Regions from separate parts of the Homo sapiens genome. Here regions 2 and 3 are each linked to region 1. The links are contacts of gene promoters, found by promoter capture Hi-C in blood cells and fetal thymus (Javierre and others, 2016). All regions are on one chromosome and are shown on one strand. The core of a region is centred on a gene start or on the middle of the fragment in contact, and the rest is flanking DNA. Distances in the headings are between cores, read along the strand shown.

Region 1 (2,873 bases), core at 37-2,536:
CCTTCCTGACAGGTACTGATCCCTCGTCATGTTGTCCAGGATATTGTCACTCCCCGAAACACCCTCTTCCAGTCCTTCACGCCTTGATAAATATCTATTTGTCCTTCAAAAGGCTCATCGAGCATTATTTTGGTGGGTTTCCTTTGGTTCTCCTCCCTCCAGCTTAATAGCCTTCTCATTTATATTACTTTTATTCTATACATCAAATTAAATCGGCCTTATTTAGTAGCTTTAATCATCTTTTCTACTAGAATGAACTTCTTAATGGCTTTCATTCTCTCTTGTGTTGCCAAGGCCTGGCAGACTACCTAGAACAAAACATATGAACTGAACTGATTTAGGCTGTACTGCGGATGTCTCTAAAAGGAAGAATAGCACTGAGGGTATCTCTAGAAGAAATAATTGGTTTTTGTTTGTTCGTTTTTTTTTGTTGTTTTGTTTTGTTTTGTTTTTGTTTTTTTGAGATGGAGCCTCGCTCTGTCACCCAGGCTTGACTGCAGTGACGCAATCTCAGCTCACGCAACCTCCGCTTCCCGGGTTCAAGCAATTCTCTGCCTCAGTCTCCCAAATAGCTGGGATTACAGGCGCTCGCCACCACACCTGGCTAATTTTTGTATTTCTAGTAGAGACGGGGTTTCACCATCTTGGCCAGGCTGGTTTTGAACTCCCAACCTTGTGATCCGCCCACATCGGCCTCCCAAAGTGCTAGGATTACAGGTGTGAGCCACCACGCCCGGCCAAGAATTGTATATTTTTAGGGGATCAGAACACTTAGAATTAGTGGGACATTATTGCTAGGGTTAAGATAGCATTTCAGTATTTCTGGTATAGAGGATGTTGGCTATCCACTGTCTATTCCAGTAAATTTCCTCACCATAATATCTCTCTATCTCTGTCTGTCTGTCTTCTCTCTCTTGCACACATGAGAGAGAACTATTACCTGCCGGGTAAATAGTGGGAGAATTAGGACCTACTGTGAATCGTCTGCCTGGGGCCCAACCTGTAACATCACAAGAAGAAAAACATCTGTACTTCCTTATGAGGTTCTTTTCAATGTCCATTTTAGTTCAAATGTCCTCATAACATAAAGGGAGGGGGAAGTTCAGAGACACATCATAGAATATTCATCACATTGCTGGCATTCTGGGAAGAATCAGGCTGGTTAAGTGACTCCCAGGCTGCTCTTACCTATCCAGAGCCTAGAGCATCTAGATTTTGATTGGACCATTGCCAGAACTCATTAGCATAGTGTACCCTGACCTGGAATAGGGAACAGCGTCTGCTCAGAAAATGACCAGAGCCTGCTGGGACTTGAACCAGCAGTAAGATTTTCACGACACAGTGCTGTCTGCTTCTCCGTAAGAAGTTAGAAGGTAAGAAAGCCAGAAATCCCGTGGAGAGGCAAATGTAAGGGATGTGGCAACGACCACTCTATTCCTACAGGGTTTCATTTGTTCTAGTTCATTTTTCTGTAGAAATGATGAAAATTGAATATACTTTGCGCAAGTTGCTTTAAAAAAAGGAGTCTTGACAAGTGTAGTTTTTCAATCCTAGAAGAGGAAAACAGAGTTTACTTAAGGGCTGTAAAATGGTTTTTTCTTCTTTTCTATGTTTTGTTCTTAACTTTTAGGGAAATATTAAATTAATGCTCATTCGCTTAGCAAATGTTAATATCGAGAGAAAAATCTAAAATGTAACATAGTTGTTCTGTAATAAAATTTTCTTTATTATTCTTCCCTTAATTTAAAAACAAAATAATTATGTCTATATTGCCTAGGCTTTATAACAATGTTTTTGATTTTTGAAAATATGAATCTTATTTGCCAAGGTTTTTAAAAAGTAGATCTATTCCAATTAGTTATAACAAAATTTGCACCATCAGAGACAATATCGTTACTGTTCAGGGTAAGTACACGGAACTGCTGCTTGGTATCTGCATCTTCTATACCTGTTATTTAAGTCCTTTGAATTAGAGTCAATTTGCGGCATCATTTCTTCAGTAACACAATGTTTCTTTCCTAAACATAGAATTTTACTTAAAATCCATGAGGATTTAGTCTTGAAAATCAACATTCAGTTGGGGAACAGAAACTTCGTGCTCTGCAACCACTAGGTTGTAGCTCAGTATGGGTATGTGGAACAGACAGGAAGAGACTCTGATTAGCTTGTCATTTAATGGTCAAGAACTTTATTTATAAAGACTATACTTTCAGGGATCATTTCTATAGTTTGTTACTAGAGAAATTTCTCTGGACATCTAGAGCACACACAAAAAAGAAAAAAGGAACTTCATTCTTATGTTCAGGTCAACGGTCTTTTATATACATACACTTTCCCTTGGTAGAGTTCAGTGATTGACAAGTATTAGGATTATATAACACTAAATAACTAAAGAACAGGCCGGGCACAGTGGCTCATGCCTGTAATCCCAGCACTTTGGGAGACAGAGACGTATGGATCACCTGAGGAAAGGAGTTCAAGACCGGCCTGGTCAACATGGTGAAACCCCATCTCTACTGAAAATACAAAAATTAGCTGGGTGTGGTGGTGCGTGCCTGTAATCCCAGCTACTTGGGAGGCTGAGGTAAAAGAATCACTGGAGCCCCAGAGGTGGAGGCTATGGTGAGCTGAGATTGCGCCACTGCACTCCAGCCTGGGTGATAAGAGTAAGACTCCATTAAAAAAAAAAAAAAAAAAAAAACAATAAAAACTAAAGAAAAGAGTTCATGGGTCTCGCCAAAGCTTAGACTATTAATCTACCTTATAGTTTGAGTTCGCTATTAAATAGCTCTACATAACATCATTATGTCTCTTGTTTTTATAAGAGTACCAATAAATGAAATGTTATACATGTGAACATGTTTCACTTCATA
Region 2 (2,700 bases), core at 89-2,588, 230 kb before region 1:
CTGACCTGACACAAAGGTACTTTTTGTCAAGTAAATGTGTAACAGAGAGAAACAAGACAAGTCCAGAGGTTACTAGAGCGCAAAGTGATTTGTTGTTCAAACATAAAACACACAAAATTTGCTAGCAAAATTAAAGTAAAAAACTAGGAATATACATATATAATGTTTATATATGTATAATAACTAAGATGTATCTATAAATTGTGTTTTACAAAGACAAGATGGCAATAAGACATTAACAGTGAGTGAGTTGTGATATGATGGGCTATTTTCTTCAAACTTGGTATTTTCAAATTTTCTACAAGCCGTATTACTTTCATAAAACAGAAACACAAAAAAATAGGTTTTTAAAAAAACTAACAGACTCTCAGTGCAAACATCTGGAATCAGAGCATACTTTAAGGTATACTTAAAATTGCTAGGTGTGGTGACCCGTGCCTGTAGTCCCAGCTACTCAGGAGGCTGTGGAATAAGAACCTCTTGAACCCAGGAGGCAGAGGTTGCAGTGAGCCAAGATCACGCCACTTCACTCCTGCCTGGGCGTCAGAGCAAAACTCTGTTTCCAAAAAAAAACCAAGGTACTTAAAATCAACACCCTCTGCTAAGGAGACCAGATAATAATTCTTAGCTGAGTCTACCTCTAGCATCCTGTCTGGAATGGGGCAAAGGCTAAGAGATGCTGAGACGTCTGCTTTGGCTGGTGGTTCCAATTGCCCTCCTAATCCTGAGACAAAAGGCAAGAGAGTACAAGGTGTTCCTGTTTGGTGGTCAGATGTCATTCCAATTGAAAATGATGATTTATCAACTCTATTAAGAGGACACAGAACTGAACCTCCTGATCTATCTCAATCTGCAGTCAATAATCAATGTGCCTTTGGAAACCTGCCTCACAATTATTCAATAAAACTTCACAAATAGTATGATAAAACTAAGTGTATTGTTTACAACAAAGCAAAAGAGCCAATATAATCATGCACAATACTCCTAACTTCTGATACTAGAAATTTTTGCCCAGCTGGAAGACAGGAAGCAACTACTTATGCAGAGAAAATGGGAAACTTAAAAAAATGAATGAGAAGTGAAGACACATAGATTGAAACATTTTCCTGGTCAGAAAAAACGGGCGAATATGATACTTGATGCTCAGGCCAAAGTGTTTGTCTCTTTTGAGGCAATGGTTGGAAATTTTAAGGAAAAATAAATTATGCTATACTGGACCTAACCAAACATGAATTTTCAGAGACATCTATGAATGCTGAAGAAGTTAAACATCAACCAGTTTGCAGTACAATCTGGCTATGATTTATCACTTAACTAAAAGAACTTACTACTGATGGTTTGGAAGAACAGTTATTATCAAATCAACTCAGGAAAGTAGTGCTGAAAAAATCATGAGTTTCACAATCTCACAAAGAGGTTTGTCCAGCTGCTTATGCTTACAAGGTCTACTGCAGTGCCACAGAAGTTGCTCTCATTAGCCAAGTTGCCTGGGAACTGACCAGCCCATCAAAATCCTAGGCTGTGGTATTTCAAAGTGTTCAGGCATAGAATCAACAGATTGTCAAAGTGTGTAGAGCTCAAGTCTATAATGATAATCTACAGTAAGTTAAAATATCCCAAATCATCTTTGCCTATCTCTTTTTCTTAGCTGTTTATAGGCATAGATTTTCACTTGCACATCTTGTACCAGCCCCTTAGAAGGAATTCACTAAGATTATCACAGTATATCCATTACATTTGGTTGCACACTGAGTCCACTTTTATTTGATTTCTCTGAATTTGATATTTTAATAGATTTTTTTAAAAAATATTTATTATATGTTTATTGATAATATTGCTTTTCAATTTTAAAAAATGTATTTTCTATCCTATCCTGTTCTAAGCATTACAGCTTGCCCCTAAATAACTATATTCTTTTCCTTCTTCAGGTCTCAATGGCTCTTATACCTCTCATAACATATCATACGGTATTTCACCTTTTGTTATTGTTCATGCTTATATTTACTTCCTTCATTATACCGAAGGCCATTTACAGCAGGATTTCTCTTCTCATACTTAAATCATTTCTACCACTTAGCAGGTGGTAAGGACACCAGAAATATGTGTTGAGTTGAATTGAATTACTTGATATAAATGATGTAAATTATCCTGTCCTGGATAGTTGGTACAAGATATCCAAATTGCATTTATAGTATCACTCACATCCATCAATCAAAAACCTCCTCATTGCCTTACATTTTTAATGGTTGATGTCATCGACAACCTCTCTATCATCAACAACTTCTCTATCACCTTCAAGAATTTTCTCCTCTAGCCCATCAGCCATCATGAACTCATGTCGTTTCTACTTCTGCAGTCTCTCATCTCTCCTGTCCTTCCTATTGTCTTGCTATAACTCCATTATCTCATAACACGCTTGTGTAAAACCCTCCTAATTTGTTTTGCCCTACCTGGTGCATCCTTCTCACCCCTGCCACAGTAACCTTCCTAAACACAGGTAAGTTCGTATTTGTTTTCTTTATCAAAAACCACAAAACACTCTCAGTTACCCAAAATCTAAATGGCTTCTTCCAAGACCCTCTACTGTGGTGTCAAGCTAACTCTCCAACCTCATCTCCAACTAAAGGCTCTATGAGCCCTACACTCTGGCCACGTGGTTCATTTACCAGCTCCGAACATTTTACACACTTTCACCACTCT
Region 3 (2,741 bases), core at 67-2,566, 250 kb before region 1:
TTAACGATGAACATCGTATGAGAAAAGAGGGTCACTATGTCACTAGTCATAAATAACAGCCAACCAGAATACCAAGTAAATAAGTCAAATGACCAATTTCAAATAGAGGCAGAAAATCAAAAGGGAACCTACTACATTTACAAAGTGCAAATAATAAAGGCTAATGGACTATTATATAACTATTTTTAAATGATAAAGCTAAATATTTGGAAGAAACAGTCTCTTTTTTTCATTCTAAGGAAACAATGTATTAAATGACAAGTCAATCTGAATCACTACTTCTATGCTTCATTAGGAGCCAGTTAATTTAATGTACAAGATATTTAAACAAAAATTCAATGTACAACATCAATTTTTGTTTATCCTGAGAGACCACATATGTATAAGGTACATAGTTTTTTGTTTAGATTTTAGCAGCATATAGTATGGAAGGTGCACCTAGTTTTTGGTGGATGGAATTTAGCAGCCTTGTCAGTGGGCAGAGTATTTAAAAGTATTCCTTAACTCGTTTCCTTGTAATGTTCCTTTCCTTTTATCAGGATCTTCTATTGAGACCACAGTGGATATTTTCCCAGTTGTTCTTGATTTTCATAACCCACTGTGGCATGGATTCTCTTCTTGCTCAAACTTGAGCCAGGATCCTTTGAGCCTTCCTCTTGACTAAGGCCCAACTTTGACCTATAAAGACTTGAACAAACACTAACATAGCTTCTAACAGCTCCAGCTTTCCTTAAAGTGCCTGCTGAGAAAACTCAAGATTTGCGAAAAATCTACTGTTTGTTCCAGTCAACACCTGAAGATAGGGCCTCTGTCCACCAGTCATTGTGGGAGGGTAGGGACCTAACTTCAGTAAGCACCAGTTAGAAAACCCAGATGAATTTCACGTGGACAACCTCCCTTTCCTGCTTTTTGTAAGTTTCTCCACTTCCCACATTCTACTGACCCCCTGCTCACTCACTCCCTATTTCCTTATTCTCCATTTAAATTACCCAGTCACCTCTGGACAAATCAAAGTTCAGTTCAATTCACACTGTACTGTTATTCCTATTGCAATAGTATATTACTGATTAAAATCTGTCTTTACCACTTTAACTAGTATTTAGCTTTGTTTATCTTTGACACATTTAGTAGTCACCAAAAAGGAATTGAGCAGAGCGGAGCCTGCAAGAGGCTTACAATCAAATCACAGGGCACACATACAGTAAATATAAACACCTACTACAGCATACAAACAAGAGGTAGGCAAGAGATTTTGAAAGTCTTTTGGAAAGGAGAAATTTTGAGAAAACAACAAGAGGGCACATACAGTTTAGAAAAGAGCAAAAGGTCACATCCAACTAGTCTCAGCCTTATCAGCAATGGAAACCAATGGTGTGCATAGGTATGGTTTGAGCAGCAGACAAGTTTAGTGAGAGTGACAGGGTGACAGCTATAAAGAAAAGAGGGAATAGTGGGAGCACACCCAAGGCTGTGAGAAAGTCTGTAACCCAGGGAATGCCAGAACATCCCTTAAGGATTGCCATCCTAAACTGCAACGGCCTCTTTCCCAACATGGCCATGAAAAGTCTTTGCCCAGTCCACTGGAGGATTATGTGCAAACTGGGAAAGGCCTTTCGGATTCAGGCAGAGACTTTTCAGAGTAAATTCTGAGAAGGGAGCCAGGGGATGAGGACAAGGGAGTTCAGGAAAAAATGAATTAGCAGATCTGGGCATTTCAAAGTGCAGCTTTTGTTTTGGGGTCCTAGAAATGTGTTAGGGATTCTTGTGACCTGATGGCATAGTTAGTACTCATCTTACTTGAAAACATTCCTAGCACTTTCACTAGTCCCCAAGTTCTTCCAATCAGTTTACTTCTGAATTATCTCTACAACCATCTCTTCATTTTCAGGGAGCTCTCTAATTTAGATCTTCACTAGCTCACTCTGTAACCATCAACTGCAGAAGTTTCCTAAGCATTTCACTCTTTCTAGCTGTCCTCCCACTCCATCCCAATATGTCATTCACCTTGCTGTCAGAATCATCTAAGACACAGATCTGATCTTGTCACATCCCTAATAAAACACCTTCAGTGTCTCCCTGTTACTCAGCTGATACAGTCCAAACCATCAGCACAGTTACACTCTGGCCCAACACCTCCTTGCCTCTCTGGCCAGCCCTCCTCATCCTTTCACATCCCCTATATCCCTCACCCCCTGTCTTCTAGGTGCAGGACAGTTGCCATTTTTCAAAAATGCCAAATATTTTCATTGGCCATGCCTTTACTTTCATAGTTCCCTCTGCCTTTAACGCCTTCATCCTCACACCCCTACCTCTAACCAGCACTATTTACAGACTCCTCGACACCAGCTTAAATGTCCCTTCCTCCATGAAACCATCTCAAGTCCTCCAGACAAAATGAGATTCCTCTGGTCTGTTCCCAAATCCCTTGGCTTTGCAATTCTCCCTTTATAGTAATTTTTATTGCTTCTGTCTTTATTTAACTTTGTAAATATATCCTTTGTTTAAATAGTATTTTACAAGATTATAAAATTTTTGAAGGTAGAAATAGAGTCACACACACAATTCGACACAGAGATATGTGGCCTCAAATTATCATTTTCTCAAGTGTCTTAATCTTCTCTTTCCATCTAGGTTGTCAATTTCTTGAGAAGTTAAATACTTTTATTCTTCCCTACCCTCGTTTCTGCAACCATCACTATTGTGCTGAGCCTAAATTGTCATAGCATCTATAAAAGGATGGA

Evidence for each region. Contacts are between HindIII fragments. The CHiCAGO score rates a contact against its expected background, and 5 or more counts as called.
Region 2: a contact is called between a fragment that was not itself captured here and the fragment with the promoter of GCM1 in region 1, in 1 of 17 cell types (neutrophils). The highest score is 5.5, in neutrophils.
Region 3: a contact is called between a fragment that was not itself captured here and the fragment with the promoter of GCM1 in region 1, in 1 of 17 cell types (neutrophils). The highest score is 6.0, in neutrophils.

Annotation. Positions count from the first base shown.
Region 1 is chr6:53,147,254-53,150,126 of GRCh38, reverse strand. It overlaps GCM1 (glial cells missing transcription factor 1), which reads left to right and starts at 1,286. Exons shown (of 6, transcript NM_003643.4): 1 at 1,286-1,373. It also overlaps the pseudogene LOC124901513. The HindIII fragment of the contact is 12,096 bases long and covers 1-2,744 here.
Region 2 is chr6:53,374,805-53,377,504 of GRCh38, reverse strand. No RefSeq gene overlaps it. Among named protein-coding and RNA genes, the nearest start is that of ELOVL5, 27 kb to the right of the region's middle. The HindIII fragment of the contact is 7,566 bases long and covers 1-2,700 here.
Region 3 is chr6:53,395,436-53,398,176 of GRCh38, reverse strand. No RefSeq gene overlaps it. Among named protein-coding and RNA genes, the nearest start is that of GCLC-AS1, 35 kb to the left of the region's middle. The HindIII fragment of the contact is 5,160 bases long and covers 1-2,741 here.